2 separate regions of the Homo sapiens genome follow, and region 2 is linked to region 1. The links are contacts of gene promoters, found by promoter capture Hi-C in blood cells and fetal thymus (Javierre and others, 2016). All regions are on one chromosome and are shown on one strand. Each heading gives the region's core, a stretch centred on a gene start or on the middle of the fragment in contact. The rest is flanking DNA. Distances are from core to core; before and after follow the strand shown.

The links. Contacts are between HindIII fragments. The CHiCAGO score rates a contact against its expected background, and 5 or more counts as called.
Region 2: a contact is called between a fragment that was not itself captured here and the fragment with the promoter of OPTN in region 1, in 5 of 17 cell types (endothelial precursors, erythroblasts, naive CD4 T cells and 2 more). The highest score is 6.8, in endothelial precursors.

The regions. Positions count from the first base shown.
Region 1 is chr10:13,097,623-13,101,419 of GRCh38, forward strand. OPTN (optineurin) reads left to right here and starts at 2,541. Exons shown (of 15, transcript NM_001008212.2): 1 at 2,541-2,680. It also overlaps a transcript of CCDC3 not described here. RefSeq lists silencers at 1,817-1,876, 2,347-2,916 and an enhancer at 3,197-3,326. The HindIII fragment of the contact is 12,315 bases long and covers 1-3,797 here.
Region 2 is chr10:12,268,505-12,272,492 of GRCh38, forward strand. No RefSeq gene overlaps it. Among named protein-coding and RNA genes, the nearest start is that of CDC123, 74 kb to the left of the region's middle. The HindIII fragment of the contact is 6,579 bases long and covers 1-3,988 here.

The DNA of each region.
Region 1 (3,797 bases), core at 1,291-3,790:
CTGAGGCAGGAGAATCACTCAAACCCAGGAGGTGGAGATTGCAGTGAGCTGAGATTATGCCACTGCACTCCAGCCTGGGCAACAGAGTGAGACTCCACCTCAAAAAATAAAATAAAACCTTTGGGGCAAGCTCTGCTTTAGAGTCCAGAATTCTGGGGATTTTCAAAAGGCTATTCAATAAATGGGATTTATATCACATAACACCCTGACACTGTCTGACGCAGTTCTCCTATCAACTATTCGATTTTCCTTCACAAAACAAATTTAAAAATCACATCAAGGGATCTAAATAAAGACTGTAAATAGCTTTCCATCAGTTGGGTCTGGTCAGAAAAGAGGTTTGGTCCTTAGAACTTTCTGGATTTGGGAGTGTACTATACTCCCCATTTTACAGATAAAGGGAATGAGGAAGGGTAAGATGAAGTAACTTGGTCAAGGTCCTACAGCTAAGAAGTGGTTGTCGGGGGAGTGTGTGTGCATGTGTGTGTGCAGTGCTTCAGGGCACCCCCCACCCCGACCCCACCACTGAGAGCAAGGAATCAGGAGAAAACAACTTTGACTGCTTTCTGTACCAGAAACTCACCTCGAGCCTCCCACACCAAAGCCATGGGCAGCTTGTGGGTGACCTTCTTCTCTTGGCTCTGAGTTTCACTGATGCTCATTTTAATTCACTTTCATAGTGTTGTTTTGTTCTCGTTTTTGTTTTTGCTTGAGACAAAGTCTCCCTCTCACCCAAGCTGGAGTGCAGTGCTGCAATCACAGCTCATTGCAGCCTCTCCCTCCTGGGCTCAAGCGATCCTCCTGCCTTGACCTCCCAAAGTGCTGGGATTACAGGTGTGAGCCACCGTGCCCCACCTATAGGGTTTTAAACAGTAAAAGGAGCCTAGTGAAGTACGACTTACCGCAGGCACCCCTTACAGGCCCCGGGGGGACCCTTTTCTGCCGATCCCAGGGTACAGCTGTGACACCGTCTTTTCTGCCTGGATTATCCCAGTAGATAAACAAAAATTAGAGATCGTCATTCCATTTCTCTCTGTATATATTTTTCCAAGCCCTTTTCATGAATGATCAGTTATTTCCTGCACTGATTTTTTTTTTTTTTTTTTTTTTTTGAGACGGAGTCTCACTCTGTCACCCAGGCTGGAGTGCAGTGGCATGATCTCGGCTCGCTGCAAGCTCTGCCTCCCGGGTTCAAGCGATTCTTCTGCCTTAGCCTCCCGAGTAGCTGGGACTACAGGAGAGTACCATCATGCCCGGCTAATTTTTGTATTTTTAGTAGAGACAGGCTTTCACCATATTGGCCAGGCTGGTCTCGAACTCCGGACCTTGCGATCTGCCTGCCTTGGCCTCCCAAAGTGCTGGGATTACAGGCGTGAGCCACCGCGCCTGGCCCTCCTGCACTGATATAAAAAGAATTTTTTTAAATTCTCTATTTCTCCCCACTCCCACCCCCAGGCTCACTCCTTATAAAGCAGCCTCTAGCCTCATCTGCCCCTCCTACACCACACCAACTCGAGGGCCCGGAATTGGGTCTGGGGCAGTCGCTGACTTGCTTGCTTCTCTGCCCTGCTCTTGGGGTTAGCCTCAGGGGCAGGGTTGAGAGTCAGGCTTGGCCAGGCAGCAGGAGGTCCAGACAGCGAAGCAGAATCCTTCGGAGATACCAGGAGAGGGCGCATCTGCCTTTTTCCTGTTTCAGATTAGGTTTTGTTGTTGTTGTTTTGTTTTTTTTCTCTCCCTCTCTCCCTCCCTCCCTCTCTCCCTCCCTCTCTCCCTCTCTCCGTCCCTCCCTCTCTCTCTCTCTCCCCCTCCCTCCTTCCCTCCCTCCCATCCCTGCAGCGCTACCCGGGTACTCTGGATGCACATAGGGCGGCTCTCGCTCCTACCTTGTCATCCTGCTGTCTAATCCGGGGGCAGCTTCCCTCCTCCACACCAGCAGAGGCTATTCTTCAGCAACAAGAATAGCCGAGCCTATTCGTCCGCAACAAGAGCCCAAGAAGCATCCTGCAGGCTTTCTGCTTTTTGAGTGTATTTTAAAGCAAAAACGAGTGGAAAGCTATGTATGCTCAGTTAACTATGTCTAGATGTTAACCTTTTTTCAAAAAACACAGATGGAGGCCTCCCTCCGAGGATGCCTGGCATTCTCCTCTTTCTGTGGGCGGCAGCGACCCCCTGCGGCTCCAGCCTCCACTACGGGATCTGCGGGAAGACACGGGGAAGACGAACTCCGCACACTGCATTTGATTAATGATTTATTTTGATTAACGCCGTCACAGTGACGCCTTAGAGCAGTCCCTGTTCACCCGGGTCCCAGCCTCGACCCCGCACGGACAGCGAGGGTGGGTAGCTGGGGGCGGACGCAGGAAAGAGGAGGGGCGGGGCCTTGGTCGGGTGGGGTATGGAATGGGCAGGGTGGGGGGGATGGGCGGGGTATGGGATGGGCGGGGCCCGGGAAATTCCCCGGCGCGGGCAGGGAGCGGCTGGCTGTCAGCTGAGCCGCGCTGGGCGGGGTCGCCAGGCCGCGCATCAGCCCTAGGCACCCCAGTCCCGGCTGCCCCCTCCGCCACCGCCGCCGCCCGCCGGCAGGTTCCCTGGTCAGCGTCCCATCCCGGTCGGGAGTTCTCTCCAGGCGGCACGATGCCGAGGAAACAGTGACCCTGAGCGAAGCCAAGCCGGGCGGCAGGTGAGCCAGGGCAGGGGGCTGCAGCGGTGGGCGAGGGGGCGGCGGCTCCTTCCCGGCGGGCGCTTCCGCGGCCTGAAAACGGTACCCGCCGCCCTGCCCCGCGGCCCGGAGCCTGTCGGGGTGAGGGTGGCGAGGGGTGGGGCGGCCCTCCCGCGAGACGGCTGCCCTGGGAGGATCCCCAAGCCTCGGCGGGTCCTGACCTGGTGGGAGAGGGTGGGTAGTGAACACAGGGTGGGCCCAAGAAGGGTCCAGGGCCGGCCTCTTGGCCGCAGGTAACCCCTCTACAAGTCACCCAGAGACTTGGAGGTGACGTCCTCCCGCAGGCTGGGAAGGATTCCGCAGCCAGTTCCTCGCCATAAGGAGGTGGTTACAGACACGCCTGTGGGAGACATGGGACCACTACCCGAGCTGAATGAGGTGCCCAGGGTCGGTGGGAATCCACATAGACTGCTGTGTCTAGGAGAGTGTGTACACTCTATATAGAGAGAATATTTGATGAGGCCGAGAACCCCAAAGGAATTGTTTTTGCCATCGAAATGCATAAGCTACAGGAAGTAAACATCGCTCAAAGAAAATGAAACCCAGGTTCCGACCTGGCCTCCACCAGCAGGAAAACTGTTGTATGGAAATGTACACCAAGGAACTGTTTGTAAGGATGAAATGGAAAATGAAAGCATAGAAAAGTAAGGCAATGTGAGGACCTCAGAAGCCTTTGGATCTGGTTAGCAAGGTGCAGGCTGTGTGAACAGAAGAACCCACCTTGCTCTTTTGACCCAGGGAGAGAAGAGTTAGTGGTGCCAGGCTGCCTCCCAGGACAGGCCCAGTTTTGGGGCGGGGGCTGGAGAAGTCCCAGGGCAGACCCCAAGGCCAGGGATTGCCCTGGAGTGGACAAGGCAAGTTTAAATGTGACCTGTAGACAGAGGACGATCATTGATTTAAGTCCTGGCATAATTCATCTGTTTTTCCACTGGGCCAATTTTAGGCGTTCTTTATATATTACGTACAACACAATAAAAGTAACAGCTTCTTTTTTTATAAACTAACCTTTAGGTTGCATATTATGCTAGGAATATAACTAACCTAACCTCCACCCCCCCACCCCCCCACCCACCCCCGG
Region 2 (3,988 bases), core at 262-2,761, 830 kb before region 1:
TGTGCGTGTGTGTTTTTAAATCAGTTAGACTAGGCTGGACATGGTGGCTCATGCCTGTAATCCCAACACTTTGGGAGGCCGAGGTGGGAGGCTTGTTTGAGGCCAGGAATTCAAGACCAGCCTGGGCAATGTAGTGAGCCCCTGTCTATACAAAAAAAAAAAAAAAAAGAAAAATAATAAAATGAAAAATCAGATAGACTGTTCCAAGTGGTAGGAAGAAATACTTTGATAAGTGACTTAAGATGGAGGTAAGACACCCCACTCCCCACCCACCCTACTTGTGAGGACATACCAGAGTGACAACTCCAAGCTGCTCAACTGCCTTCCATCTGAAGAACTTGTTCGCTAAGTGGGGCACATAGTGTGGAGTTGGAGCTAAATTGTTAGGGACAAAAAAGGCTGAGTTATCAGACCTGTGCCCCGTCTGTCTCAGGCTCTTATCTGCAGAATCAGCGAAGAAATCCCTAAAGACTATGGGTTTCAGGGAGTGCCCAGTTATGAGCCTGTTACAGCACCGTGTGCCTTCACCCTGCCCAGGTGAGGGGGCCCCACAGGTGGGGGCTTCCACTTTGTTGTCTCTGTCCCTCAGGTCCCTGAGGACAATCAAGGTAGCCATACACCCTGAATTTGCAAGGGCTGTCTGGTTTTAAAGTCTCTCCCTTTGATTCAGGAAAGTCCATTCTTACTTGTCAGTCTCGTCTTGTGTCCTGACTTTTGGCTCAGAAAATCAGTCACCACAGTCTCAAAAACTTTGAACTCAGCACTTCTCTCTTCCCTGCAGTAGGAAATCCCCTATAAGATGATCAGAGACAGACCCCTTGGGAAACTGCTAGGCCAGGGGCTGGAAATTGCAGGTGTCAACTCCCAGTAGAAACACCATTGTGGATACTTAGGTGACTCAGTAGCTATGGAAGATAAGACGGATCAGAGACCAGGATCAAGGGAGATAAATATTTTCAAAGAGCTTTGAGTTATTCAAGAAAGGACTCCTCAAATGGACAGGTATGGACCCATAAAAACAGAAATTCAGTCTTCTGGCTTTAGAATTTTGCCGCTTGACAGCTCCAGCTTGCGGCCCCCTTCCCCGCCCTCCTTCCCCCGGCCCCTATCTCTCCTGCACCGCCCACCCCCAACATTACATGCCACATCTTCTGGGTGAGACTTGACAATCCTTCTTTTAAAAATTTAATTAATTAATTATTTATATGTTTTTTGAGACAGAGTCTTGCTCTGTCACCCAAGCTGGAGTACACTGGTGTGATCTTGGCTCACTGCAACCTCCGCCTCCTGGGTTCAAGCAATTCTTCTGCCTCAGCCTTCTGAGTAGCTGGGACTACAGGCATGCACCACCACACCCGGCTAATTTTTTGTATTTTTAGTAGAGACAGGGTTTCGCCATGTTGTCCAGGCTGGTCTCAAACTCCTGACCTCAGGTGATCCACCCACCTTGGCCTCCCAAAGCGCTGGGATTACAGGAGTGAGCCACCGTGCCCAGCCAGTCCTTCTTTTTTTTTTTTTTTTTATCCAATTTCTTTCCCTTTCTTTAATTCCTCTTTTGTTTTGTCAAAGTAGTTCCTGAGCATCTTTTTCATGGTGAGTACTTGTGGAATACATCTTCCAAGTTCTCCTGTGCACATCTTAATAGTGTCTCTTTGATTGCTTCACATTTGATCGATAATCTGAGTGGGTAGGGAATGCTAAATTCAAAATAGTTTCCTAGCTGGGCATGGAGTCTCACAGGTGTAATTCCAGCACTTTGGAAGGCTGAGGCAGGAGGATTGCTTGAGCCCAGGAGTTTGAGAACAGCCTTGGCAACATAGCAAGACCCTGTCTTTACAAAAAAATAAGAAAAAAAAATTAGCCAGATGTGGTGGCATGTGTTTGTAGTCCCAGCTACTCGGGAGGCTGAGGCAGGAGGATCCTTTGAGCCTGGGTTATCAAGGCTGCAGTGAGATGTGATCGCATCAGCCTGGATGACAGACCGAGAACCTATCTCAAAAAAAAAAAGTTTCCCATAAAAATTTCGTAACCATTGTTTGTCTTCTAGCAAAATTATTTTACATTTGAAAACTTTAGGCCGGGCTCACGCCTGTAATCCCAGCACTTTGAGAGGCCGAGGCAGGTGGATCACCTGAGGTCAGGAGTTCAAGACCAGCCTGGCCAACATGGTAAAACCCCATCTCTACCAAAAATACAAAAATTAGCTGGGTGTGCTGGCGGGTGCCTGTAATTCCAGCTACTCGGGAGGCTGAGGCAGGAGAATCACTTGAACCCAGGAAGCGGAGTTTGCAGTGAGCCAAAATAGCGCCACTGTACTCCAACCTGGGTGACAAGAGGGAAACTCCTTCTCAAAAAAAAAAAGAAAAAGAAAAAGAAAACTTCAAACAAGTGTTTTCTTTCAGCCATCAAGCCTTTCCACCCCCTCTCTACTTCTGCTTCTTAAGCAAAGCATTTCCTCATAATCAGGGTGGAGTAATCTATTTTTGTTAGAACTCCCTGTAAAAATGCAACTGCCTCAAGAGGATCAAACACTTATGATCATCCTCAGTGCCAGGGGCTGGAAGTTGGGCCTTATATGGAATTCGTGACTCATCATCCAAGAGCCTAAAAGATTTACTTGCTCTGGCCGGGCTCCTAATTGCATGGGCTGAGCATCAGCTAGACGCCTGAAATCGAACACCTCGACACCTTTTAACTAACCTGGGAACATATTTCTGACTTGGTGCCAGGAAACAGAATACCTGTTTGGTAAACTGTCAACTTCTAGGTCTGAAAAAAAATGCCCGCAACTTCTGTTGAGTCACATCATAAGAGACCGTGAGGACACGTGGATGCCAGGACAAGATACAGGAATAATTCCTTTTCTTAGCAAGAGGAGATATAGCTGATTATAGTTCCTTCCACATAAGCAATGATTATGAATTAGGAAATAACCCAAGGGAGGCCGGGTGCGGTGGCTCACACCTGTAATCCCGGCACTTTGGGAGGTCGAGGCGGGTGGATCACCTGAAGTCAGGAGTTTGAGACCAGCCTGGCCAACACAGTGAAACCTTGTCTCTACTAAAAACACAAAAAATTAGCCAGGTGTGGTGCCACGTGCCTGTAGTCCCAGCTTTTCGGGAGGCTGAGGCAGGAGAATTGCTTGAACCCAAGAGGCAGAGATTACAGTGAGCTGAGATCGCGTCATTGCACTCCAGCCTGGGCGACAGAGCGAGACTTGGTCTCAAAAAAAAAAAAAAAAAAAAAGGAATTAACCCAAGGGAGCACTTTCTTTTTTCTTTTTCTTTTTTTTTTTTTGAGATGGAGTCTCGCTGTTACCCAGGCTGGAGTGCAGTGGCGCGATCTCGGCTCACTGCAAGCCCCGCCTCCCGAGTTCACGCCATTCTCCTGCCTCAGCCTCCCAAGCAGCTGGGACTACAGGCACCTACCACCACGCCCGGCTAATTTTTTTTGTATTTTTAGTAGAGACAGGGTTTCACTGTGTTAGCCAGGATGGTCTCGATCTCCTGACCTCGTGATCCGCCCACCTCGGCCTCCCAAAGTGCTGGGATTACAGGCGTGAGCCACCGCGCCCGGCCCAAGGGAGCACTTTCTTTCTTTTTTTCTTTTCTTTTTTTTTTTGAGATGGAGTCTCTCTGTCGTCAGGCTGGAGTGCGGTGGTGCGATTCTGGCTCACTGCAACCTTTGACTCCCAGGTTCAAGTGATTCTCCTGCCTCAGCCTCCAAGGGAGCACTTTCTAACAGTCAGAGCTGAGTAAAAGTAGAATGGACTGCTATGGGAATCTGTGGGTTCCTCTCCATAAGAGTTTTTGTTTGTTTGTTTGTTTTCTTGAGACCGAGTCTCTCTCTGTCACCCAGGCTGGAGTGCAGTTGTGTGATCTTGGCTCACAGCAACCTCCGCCTCCCAGGTTCAAGCAATTACTTGTGCTTCAGCCTTCTGAGTAGGTGGGACCACAGGCATGTGCCACCGTGCTCAGCTACTTTTTAT